Linked DNA regions of Homo sapiens: all the other regions are linked to region 2. The links are contacts of gene promoters, found by promoter capture Hi-C in blood cells and fetal thymus (Javierre and others, 2016). All regions are on one chromosome and are shown on one strand. The core of a region is centred on a gene start or on the middle of the fragment in contact, and the rest is flanking DNA. Distances in the headings are between cores, read along the strand shown.

Evidence for each region. Contacts are between HindIII fragments. The CHiCAGO score rates a contact against its expected background, and 5 or more counts as called.
Region 1: a contact is called between a fragment that was not itself captured here and the fragment with the promoter of MED24 in region 2, in 3 of 17 cell types (neutrophils, naive CD8 T cells and naive CD4 T cells). The highest score is 6.1, in neutrophils.
Region 3: a fragment that was not itself captured here is called in contact with the fragment with the promoter of MED24 in region 2 in 16 of 17 cell types (naive CD4 T cells, megakaryocytes, erythroblasts and 13 more); the score reaches 10.4 in naive CD4 T cells.
Region 4: a contact is called between a fragment that was not itself captured here and the fragment with the promoter of MED24 in region 2, in 1 of 17 cell types (M1 macrophages). The highest score is 5.5, in M1 macrophages.

What each region holds. Positions count from the first base shown.
Region 1 is chr17:40,206,752-40,209,451 of GRCh38, forward strand. No RefSeq gene overlaps it. Among named protein-coding and RNA genes, the nearest start is that of WIPF2, 11 kb to the right of the region's middle. The HindIII fragment of the contact is 6,806 bases long and covers 1-2,700 here.
Region 2 is chr17:40,053,079-40,055,778 of GRCh38, forward strand. It overlaps MED24 (mediator complex subunit 24), which reads right to left and starts at 1,330. Exons shown (of 26, transcript NM_014815.4): 1 at 1,283-1,330; 2 at 391-557; 3 at 220-302. The coding sequence starts at 520. RefSeq lists an enhancer at 1,530-1,589. The HindIII fragment of the contact is 3,100 bases long and covers 213-2,700 here.
Region 3 is chr17:40,189,806-40,192,505 of GRCh38, forward strand. It overlaps RAPGEFL1 (Rap guanine nucleotide exchange factor like 1), which reads left to right. Exons shown (of 15, transcript NM_016339.6): 7 at 629-726; 8 at 835-957; 9 at 1,511-1,689; 10 at 1,777-1,867; 11 at 2,408-2,458. Among named protein-coding and RNA genes, the nearest start is that of MIR6867, 2.4 kb to the right of the region's middle. RefSeq lists a silencer at 1,677-1,736 and an enhancer at 1,857-1,936. The HindIII fragment of the contact is 2,203 bases long and covers 334-2,536 here.
Region 4 is chr17:40,250,390-40,253,089 of GRCh38, forward strand. The region is part of intron 1 of WIPF2 (WAS/WASL interacting protein family member 2); the gene reads left to right. Among named protein-coding and RNA genes, the nearest start is that of WIPF2, 32 kb to the left of the region's middle. The HindIII fragment of the contact is 446 bases long and covers 1,046-1,491 here.

The DNA.
Region 1 (2,700 bases), core at 47-2,546, 150 kb after region 2:
GTGCCTGGCCAGTGCCACACACTTTTAAACAACCAGATCTCATGAGAACTCATTCATTATCACGGAATCAGCAAGGGGGAAATCTGCTCCCATGATCCAGTCACCTCCTGCCAGGTCCCTCCTAACATTGGAAATTACAATTTGACATGAGATTTGGGTGGGGACACAAAGTCAAACCATAGCAAGGAATGAAGTACTGATATATACTACAACATGGATGAACCTTGAAAAAACTGTGCTAAAAAACCAGACACAAAAGGCCTCATATTGTATGATTCCATTTATATGAAATGTCCAGCATAGACAAATCCATAGAGACAGAAAGTAGATAGTTTCTGGTTGCCATGGGCTGGGGTGAGAGCAGAATGGGGAGAGGCTACTAATGGGTATGGAGTTTCTTTTTGGGTGATGAAAATGTTTTGGAATTAGATAGTGGTGATGGCTGTACAACATTGTAAATATACTATATACTCACTTGGATGCTTTAAAGTGGTTACAATGGTGAGTTTTATGTTATGTGAATTTTATTTGCTTGGCTTCTAGACTCATCACACCAGTCTCTGCCTCCATCATTACAAGGCATTCTCCTCTGTGTGTCTCTCTGTGTCCTCTCTTCTTCTTTCTTTCTTTTTTTTTTGAGATGGAGTCTCACTCTTGTCACCCAGGCTGGAGTGCAGTGGCATGATCTTGGCTCACTGCCACCTCCGCTTCCCAGGTTCAAGTGATTATACTGCCTCAGCCTCCTGAATAGCTGGGATTACAGAGGCCCGCCACGACGCCCGGCTAATTTTTTGTATTTTTAGTAGAGATGGGGTTTCACTGTGGTCTCGATCTCCTGACCTCGTGATCCGCCCGCCTCGGCCTCCCAAACTGCTGGGACTACAGGCGTGAGCCACTGCGCCCAGCCTCTCTTTTCTTTTCTTTCTTTTTTTTTTTTTTTTGAGACAGAGTCTTCCTGTGTCACCCAGGCTGGAGTGCGGTGTCACGATCTCAGCTCACTGCAGCCTCTGCCTCTGCATCCTGGACTCAAGTGATCCTCCCACCTCAACTTACTGAGTAGCTGGGACCACAGGCGCGCACCACCAAGCACAGCTAATTTTTCTGGATTTTTAGTAGAGACGGGGTTTTTATCGTGTTGCCCAGGCTCGTCTCAAACTCTTGGCCTCAAGCTATCTGCCTGCCTCGGTCGGCCACACAAAGTGCTGGAATTACAGGTGTGAGCCACCACGCTTGGCCAATTGAATGTTTTTAGATTTTATATAAATATTATCATACTGGATGTGGTGTTCAGCAACTCCCCATCCACAACACTCTGCCTGTGAGGCTCATCCAGGTCAGCATATATTACTGGTTTGTTTGGTTTTGCTGTTCTGTGTTTCTCTTTGATTCTCAACCCAGTGCATCTGGCTTTCTCTGTCATCACTCACATAATCTGCCTGGGTCAAGAGCACCGATGACTCCCATGTTACCAAATCCAAGAACACTTATTTTCCTATTGCTGGCATTTGATATTTCTGACCATTCTTCCTTCTGGAACACTTATCGCTGCTTCCAGGATGCTACGTTCTCAGGATTTCCCTGTCTTCTCTTTCTCAGTCTTCCTCACTGGCCTCTCCCTCAGCCTGGTCCTTGTATGTGGAGTGCCCCAGCTCCCTCTTGAGCCCTTTTTTTTTCCTTCCATAATCCTGGGCTTAGATTTCATCGTCATATTTGTGTTTGGGAATCTACTGCTGCATAACAAACAGTTCCAAATTTAGTAGCTTAAAAATGACAACTTTGTTTTATTTTATTTTACTTTTTATTTTTTTTTGAGACAGAGTCTTGCTCTGTCGCCCAGGCTGGAGTGCGGTGGCATGATCTTGGCTCACTGCAACCTCCGCCTCCTGGGTTCAAGTGATTCTTGTGCCTCAGTCTCCCAAATAGTTGGGATTACAGGCATGAGCCACCACGCCCAGCTAATTTTTGTATTTTTAGTAGAGACAGGGTTTCACTATGTTGCCCAGGCTGGTTTTGAACTCCTGACCTCAGGTGATCTACCTGCCTCAGCGTCCCAAAGTGCTAGGATTACAGGTGTGAGCCACTGCACCCAGCCTAAAAACAGCAACCATTTTATAACTTCTCATGATCTTCCGGGCTGATGGGAGCTTAGCTGGATAGTTCTTCTGGTCTCACTTGAGGTCTCTCTTGCTGCAGTCAGAAGGCCACTGGAGGGCCAGGTGCAGTGGCTTACGCCTGTAATCCCAGCACTTTGGGAGGCCGAGGCGGGCGGATCACCTGAGGTCAGGAGTTTGAGACCAGCCTGGCCAGTGTGGCAAAACCCCATCTCTACTAAGCATACAAAAATTAGTCGGGCATGGTGGCTGGTGCCTGTAATCCCAGCTTCTCAGGAGGCTGAGGCAGAAGAATCGCTTGAACTCGGGAGGCGGAGATGGCAGTGGGCCGAGATCGTGCCACTGCACTCCAGCCTGACAAAGCGAGACTCAGTCTCAAAAAAAAAAAAAAAAAAAAAAAAAAAAGCCACTGGAGCTAGCTAGGATGCTAGCTCACATGTCCTGAGCCCTGGTGGGAACAAAGGGACCACAAGGATGGCTGGACTTTTCTCTCCATGTCCAGGCTTCTCCCTCCAGGTGGTCTCTGCAGCAGAGTACCTGATTTCTCACATGGGAGATGACTCCCAAAAGCAAAAAAGTAGAAGCTGTC
Region 2 (2,700 bases), core at 80-2,579:
GGCACCACCACGCAGGGGTAACTCTTTGTATTTTTGGGTAGAGACTGGGTTTTGCCATGTTACGCAGGCTGGTCTTGAACTCCTGGGCTCAAGCAATCCGCCTGCCTCAGCCTCCCACAATGCTGGGATTACAGCCATGAACCACCGGGGCCCAAATGCACTCCAAGTTTTTTACCCCCAGAACTCTCACTTCTTGGTGGGGGTTTGCGGGAAGCTTACCTGGGAACTAATGGCATACTTCAGGTAGGACAAGATGAGAGGATTGGGGGATGGTCCAATCATGGCCTGCTCTAGTAACGCATCTGCAAGAGGAATAGCAAAACACAACTGAGTGATTACAACTTCTCTGGGTTTATCCCTCCCATCTTTCTTTCCCAGTTCACTTGAGACCTGCCAGGTTGAGAATATCCCAGGTGGCTCCTTTAGGAAAGAATTTCTTCATGTTGATTGCCCATTGGTAGTCACTCCAGCGCTCCTTCCAGGCTTGCAAAATGGCTTGCTTCAGGTTGACCACCTTCATTATTTCACTCTGAGCAGGTGGCAGCGGTGGCGGCCAGCTTTGAGGTGAAAGAAATGGAGCTAAAGAAAAGGACATGAGGTTCTAAGGAGAACCGGGGAAGGCAGAATTAAATAGAAAGGAGAAGATGCGGGAAGATTTAAGCGAGACAGAGGAATTTGAAAGAAAAAGAGCTAAAGGGATAAAGTAAGATCCTGTCAGACTCTCTCCTCCTGAACCGCCCTTCCTTAAACTGGGGCACTAAGAAAGTATCGGCCGAGCGCAGTGGCTCGCACCTGTAATCCCAGCACTTCGGGAGGCAGAGGCGGGCGAATCACCGGAGGTCAGGAGTTCGAGACTAGCCTGACCAACATGGAGAAACCTCGTCTCCACTAAAAATACAAAATTAGCCGGGCTTGGTGGTGCATGCCTGTAATCCCAGCTACTCGGGAGGCTGAGGCAGTAGAATCGCTTGAACCCGGGAGGCGGAGGTTGTTGGGGTGAGCCGAGATCGCACCATTGCACTCCAGCCTGGGCAACAAGAGCAAAACTCCGTCTCTCAAATAAATGAATAAAGAAGTATCAAAGGGACTAATAGATTAAACAGGGCATCAAGGAGTTAAGGCAGTCCTGGTTGCCTAATTACGCCCTTAGCTCTAAAAGCGTCCCTTGGCCACCACCATTCCAAGTCCAGATTTGCTCCCTCATTTCCTCCACCTTCTCCAGCCCTGTAACTATACCTCCCAATTTCCTTTTCATCCACCACCTCCCCAAATTTAAGCCTACCGCACAATCCAGTTCTAGGTGGTAGGCATCGCCATTTTGGCACTTGTCAAGAAGCTCACTTTCTATTGGCTGGGAGTAACAAACGCCAACCAATAGAAATGCAGCAAGGAACGCCCCGCTGTCTTCTGGGAATGGTAGTTCCTTGGACTGAAACCGTATTTGTCTGCGCCGGCGAGGAAACTAAGGGACTCGTCTAGTCGGCCCGCATTGTTCTTCTCCTTTAAGGGAGGACATCCAGGAGCTGAGGCACTACAGAGACTCAGGGACTCGAGGGAGCTCGAAAGGCCGCTCACAACCCGGCGTCGCCCACGACGTCACTGTCGACCGGGCTTCTCCATCATATTCCGACACCCTTTCATTCGTTAGCCCCTAGTTAGTAGGTGCGGCAAGGGTGTGGCGTGGGGGCAAGGGTGTGGCGTTCAGCAATAAGGTCTTTCTCCTTTCCTGGGCTCTTTCTGTTCTCCTAAGCCCCTGGAGCTACCAGAGCTATTCTCATTTCCACAACTATATTCTAAAAGCGACACCGAGGTGCCTTAGTTGCACACATATCACCGTCCCCGAATCTTACAGTCCTATCAGAATCTCCAGGCCCTCCATACAGCTTGGATACAAGGGAAAGTAAAGAGGAAACTAAGGTGAAGGTGATCAAAATCAAAGGAATTCTGAGAAACTGTCACAACTAAGAGGGCTAAGGAGACCTGATGACTAAATGTAATGTGGTTTTCTGAATGCGATCATGGAAGAGAAAAAGAATACTGGGTAAAAACTAAGGAAATCTAAATAAAGGGTGGACTTTAATTAATAATAATGTATCAATATTAGTTCATTAGTTGTTACAAATGCATAATACTAATGCTAAGATGTTAATAAAAAGAGAAATTGGGTGCAGAATATGTGGGGACCCTCTATTACCTTCCATTTTTTTCCTGTAAATTAAAAACTTGTTTTTTTAAGTTTCTTGTTGTTGTTGTTGTTGTTGTTGTTTAAATCTTGCTTATCCCAAAGATCCATATATAAATTATGCCCAGGGCTTTGGCCATAGCCTTTCCTTCCCCCAGTGAGAAACCCGAAAGCAAATGTTACCCACCTCTGGAGGCTCCAATGTCTGAGCCTTCTTATGCATAGCCCTCATCCCTCCCCATGCTATGGACTGGTCATCCCTAACATTTACAACCAGGAATAAGAGTAAATTACTCGGGAGGCTGAGAAAGGAGGATCACTTGAGCTCGGGAGTTCAAATCCAGCCTGGGCAACATAATGAGACTCTCAGCTCTACCAAAATACATAAATAAATAAACATGGAGGCCTTTAGCCAGGGCCCAATATCCTAGTTCACAAGTTCAAGCTCAATCTGTATTCCTCAACAAAGATTCTTTTTTTTTTTTTTTTTGAGATGGAGGCTTGCTCTGTTGCCCAGG
Region 3 (2,700 bases), core at 185-2,684, 140 kb after region 2:
ACTAGCTGGGCATGGTGGTGTGCACCTGTAATCCCAGCTACTTGGGAGGCTGAGGCAGGAGAATCACTTGAACCGCGGAGGCGGAGGTTGCAGTGCCGAGATCAAGACACTGTGCTCCAGTCTGGGCAACAAGAGCGAAACTCCGTCTCAAAAAAAAAAAAAAAGTTTGGGAGGCACTGGTCTAGGACTCAGGTTCTGATCTGAGTGCTGCCCCTCACTCACCTATGGATTGTATTCTGATCCTTTAACCTCCCTGTGTATGTAAGGATGCCACATTTCACAGGCTAAAGACACAGGATGAGTGGGAAGGCAGAAAGCCAGCAATGTCACTGAAGCTTTGTTTTCCTCTACAGTAGGAAAAAATTTCAGCCTTCCCAGTGTCACAAGGACAACAGAGTAAGAGAAAAGCTGTGAAAGAAAGGGAGTAGAAAAAAAGTTATAAATGCAAAAGAAATAATCATTTGACAAATTCCAGATAAATATGGCATAAACTAGTGATAAGATGAGTTCCATTAGTCTAGAATGTGTCAGTGTGGGGTGAGGAGTTTTTGGATAGGACAGTGTCAGTGTGGGATGTGTGAGGGTGCAGGCGGCAGGGGCCGAGGATGAGCAGCTCTTTCTCCTGCAGAGAAGGTCCTTCTCCAGCCCACTGAGGACTGTGTTTTCACCGCACTGGGCATCAACAGCCACCTGTTTGCCTGTACTCGGGACAGCTATGAGGCTCTGGTAAGAACTTCCCAAGGCCTTGACTGGAATGGAGGGCTGAGGAGGGCTGTGAGCAATCCCTCACCCTGCCACCAGGAGCCCAGCCCCTATGCCCCTGCCTGCCACCAGGTGCCCCTCCCCGAGGAGATCCAGGTCTCCCCTGGAGACACAGAGATCCACCGAGTGGAGCCTGAGGACGTTGCCAACCACCTAACTGCCTTCCACTGGGAGCTGTTCCGATGTGTGCATGAGGTGGGGACCGAGGCTGGTGCTATGCTGGGGGGCTGGAGGGAGAAATGTGCCATTGGGAGACGGTGTTCGCAGCACAACGTCCTGGTTCCAAGGCTCACTTGCAGCAAGCCCTTGGGCAACGCATGGCCGTAACCTTTGTTCCCCCATCTGAAAAAAATCGCAAAGAGAGAGACCCCAGAGCACAGTGGCTCAGGGCCCAAGTGCTGTTTACACAGAACCTGACCCAGGATTTCTATTTTTAAAATATTCACTATTAAAGAAATAAAATAAGGCAGAGACAATAATGCCTAGCAGATGGTTGTCTTGAGGATGTCAGCCGTGAGCGAATGCCTGGCACCTAGTAAGTGCTCAGTAGCTGGTGAAATATTATTAATGCTGGTTGTTTTCTTTTTCCGCATCTTTGCCGCCTCCTGTCCTTTCTATTTTTCTATTTTCCACCCCTTCCGCCCCCGCCCTCCTGCCTTTCGCTCCTCATCGCCTTGCACTGCCATCTTCCCACCCACTCCCCTCACCCCCTGGCGCCCTGGCCGCCCCTCCGCTGCCGTGGGTGCAGCTGGAGTTCGTGGACTACGTGTTCCACGGGGAGCGCGGCCGCCGGGAGACGGCCAACTTGGAGCTGCTGCTGCAGCGCTGCAGCGAGGTCACGCACTGGGTGGCCACCGAAGTGCTGCTCTGCGAGGCCCCGGGCAAGCGCGCGCAGCTGCTCAAGAAGTTCATCAAGATCGCGGCCCTGTGAGTGCGGCCGTCGGCGGGATGGGGGGCCGGAGGCCGGAGGCCCGCGCCGCCGCCCGCCCCTGACCCCGCCTCCCACCCCCGCAGCTGCAAGCAGAACCAGGACCTGCTGTCTTTCTACGCCGTGGTCATGGGGCTGGACAACGCCGCTGTCAGCCGCCTTCGACTCACCTGGGAGGTGATGAGACCCCTCCCGTTCCTACCTGGGAATCTGGGCATCCCGGGCTCCCCGAAGTGCGTCCTCCCGGGACGGCCGCCGGCCTGGAGGGAGTCTTTGCGCCAGTTGGAGGGAGGCGCCCTCTTCTGGCATACGCAACCCCAGGGCGCACAGCTTGGCTAATGGACCCTGTCTTTGTGCAAATTAGTGAAAAGCCCGGATCCCGCCTGAGTCACGGCAGGCAGCCCTTGGCCAGGTCAGGTCGCAGACTTGGCTGTGGGAGTTGGGCTGATTTTCATCCACACTCAGTGGGGGCATCTTTATACAAAGCACCTGCATAAGACAGACCTGGCCTTCCCCAGAATAATGAATTCCTCTGGGCTGTTTCAAGCCTCTAGACTTAGCCAAGGCCTGACTTCATTTCCCCACCCACCAGCTTCCCAGCCCCCTACAAGCCATGCAGGCCCTTTTGCCCTCCAACAGGGAGAATTAATCCGAGGCTCCCATGTAACCCAAGGAGCTCCACTCTGATATCCCTTCTCCTTCCTTCAAACTCTGCAGAAGCTGCCAGGGAAATTCAAGAACTTGTTTCGCAAATTTGAGAACCTGACGGTGAGTGGGTTTGGCTCTTTCTTCTGCTCTTGGACTGAGAGCCCAGAAACCCTCTGTTCCCATAAACCCCCTTCCTCAAGCTTTCCTTTCAAGGTGTTTAGTGTATGGGACCCCCCACCCTCCTTACCATGCTGGAGGGTGAGGTTGGAAGGATTGCGCCCCTGTTTTTCTTGAAGGAAAGGGGGAGTAGTCAGGTCCCTCCCCACCACACCATTAGAAAGCCCCCAGCACCCCTATCTGAT
Region 4 (2,700 bases), core at 19-2,518, 200 kb after region 2:
CCGGCTAATTTTTTGTATTTTTGTATTTTTTTTTTTTTTTTAGTAGAGACAGGGTTTCACCGTGTTGGACAAGATGGTCTCTATCTCCTGACCTTGTGATCCGCCCACCTCGGCCTCCCAAAGTGCTGGGATTCCAGGCGTGAGCCACCACACCCGGCCTTTATCTTGGTTTTTAAGATGGAAGGGCTTAAGAAAGGAATGAGAATTACTGTGTTTCCGAACTTGAGGCAGCCTCAAGATGTTTCTGAAAGTCAAGGTCTCTGAAGAGCACAGATGGTGAGGTTTGTAGTTCTAATTTAATAGATCAGAAAGGAAATACTTAAAATTCTGTAGAGAACCTTCTTGTTCTTTTCTAAATTTAATCTCAGGTTTAACCTCAAGACCATTAGATTCTTAGCTGCACGTGGTGGTGCTCACTTGTAGTCCTATCTTCTCGGGAGGCTGAGGCAGAAGGATCACTGGAGCCCAGGAGTTTGAGGTTACAGTGAGCTATGATGGTGCCAGTACACGTTAGCTATTAGATTCTTTTTTTTTTTTTTTTTTTTTTTGAGTCTCGCTTTGTCACCTAGGCTGGAGTGCAGTGGCGCAATCTCGGCTCACTGCCAGCTCCGCCTCCTGGGTTCATGCTATTCTCCTGCCTCAGCCTCCCGAGTAGCTGGGACTACAGGCGCCCGCCACCACGCCCAGCTAATTTTTTATGTTTCTTAGTAGAGACGGGGTTTCACTGTGTTAGCCAGGATGGTCTCAATCTCCTGACCTTGTGATCCGCCCTCCTCGGCCTCCCAAAGTGCTGGGATTACAGGCGTGAGCCACTGCGTCCAGCCTATTAGATTCTTAGTATTGCAATAGACAGTGCTTCCAGAAGGCTCAAATTTGTCCTTTGATTAATCACAGTTGGTTAGTGAAATTTGTCTTTCTGTTGTCAAATGTTATGAATTGTTTTGGTTCATTTTTTTTTTTTTTTAACTCAAAGTAGTTCTCAAAGCAGACCCTCTGCATTGGATTAGCGATTATAAGTCTCAGTCCTAATTTGATGTAAACAAAAAGCTTCTTTTGGGAGTTTTTCAGGGAAAGGAAAGTTGTTTTAATTTGAATTCACCTAAATGGGGCTGTTCTTGGAAACATATAGAGAACTGTTTGTATTCTATAACTAAGAAATTTGGAATGAGTTAAATTTCATTTGGGGAAAAATAGAAAATTGCTAAACCACACTAATTTCCAGGGGAGTTTTTTGTTTGTTTTCTCCATAGTGATTAGTGAAAAGGAAGAAGTCAGGAGACCTGGATATGAGGCCTAACTCTGCACTTTATTCCTGAGTGATCTTGGGCAGTTGCCCTTTGATGAGTCAGTTTTTCTCATGTACATGTAGGCACTCCCACTCCTGGGACTTCAGTGTCCTCACCATAAAATGGGAAGGATAATACATCATTATGTAATAAATGTCATTGATAGGAGTGTGTCATGCATACAATCCCTGTGGAGCCAGAAGAAAGCTTGAGAGCCACTGTTGGTAGTCAACACTAAAGTCAGTCACTTGATATAGATGGTGTTTCTTTGATTTAACTTTTTTTATGTACTTAATTTTTTAAGGGGTCTTGCTGTGTTGCCTAGGCTGGATCCAAAAACAAAGGCTCAAGTGATCCTCCCTTCTTGGCCCCCTGAATAGCTGCAATTATAGGCAAGCGCCACTGATGAATCTGTTTTTCAATTAGAGTTTGAATTGAGTCTATTTTAGGAAGGCATCTTTAACTGTGTAATATATTGCTTAAAAAAAATTGCTATGCTAGAGAATTCCTGCTTTGCTTAAATAAGTGGAGCACACTGACAGGCATAAGGCTGTTCCTTTTAGGTCATTATTCACCTTGTAGCACGGAGATTGGATCACCTATGGACATGGAAAGAGTAAAGGACTTGTCTGAGTCTTTTTTGGGTCATTCTAGGAGATCCTTTCAATTATGGCAATGGCCAATGGCTGATAGAACTAGAAACCCAGGCCGGGCATGGTGGCTCACCCCTGTAATCCCAGCACTTTGGGTGGCCGAGGCGTGAGGATCATTTGAGGTCAGGAGTTTGAGACCAGCCTGGCTAACTTGGTGAAACCCCGTCTCTACTAAAAATACAGAAATTAGCTGGGTGTGGTGGCATGCGCCTGTAGTCCCAGCTGTTTGGGAGGTTGAGGCAGGAGAATCGCTTGAACCTGGGAGGAAGAGGTTGCAGCGAGCCGAGATGATGTTACTGTACTCCAGCCTAGGCAACAGAGACTCTGTCTCAAAAAAAAAAAAAACTAGAAACCTCCTCAAAAAGGCAGGACCTCTGGTGACTGGAATTAGTTGAAAATGTTTGTTTCTGAATCAACTGTTATTTTCCCTGGTTTGTTTGGTTTTTTTTTTTGAGATGGAGTTTCGCTCTTGTTGCCCAGGCTGGAGTACAATGGCGCGATCTCGGCTCACCACAACCTCCGCCTTCCAGGTTCAAGCGATTCTCCTGCCTCAGCCTCCCTAGTAGCTGGGATTGTAATCCCATGTGCCACCATGCCTGGCTAATTTTGTATTTTTAGTAGAGATGGGGTTTCTTCCATGTTGGTCAGGCTGGTCTCGAACTCCTGGCCTCAGGTGATCTGCCCGCCTCAGCCTCCCAGAGTGCTAAGATTACAGGCATTAGCCACCGCGCCTGGACTTTTTTTTTTTTTTTGAGATGGAG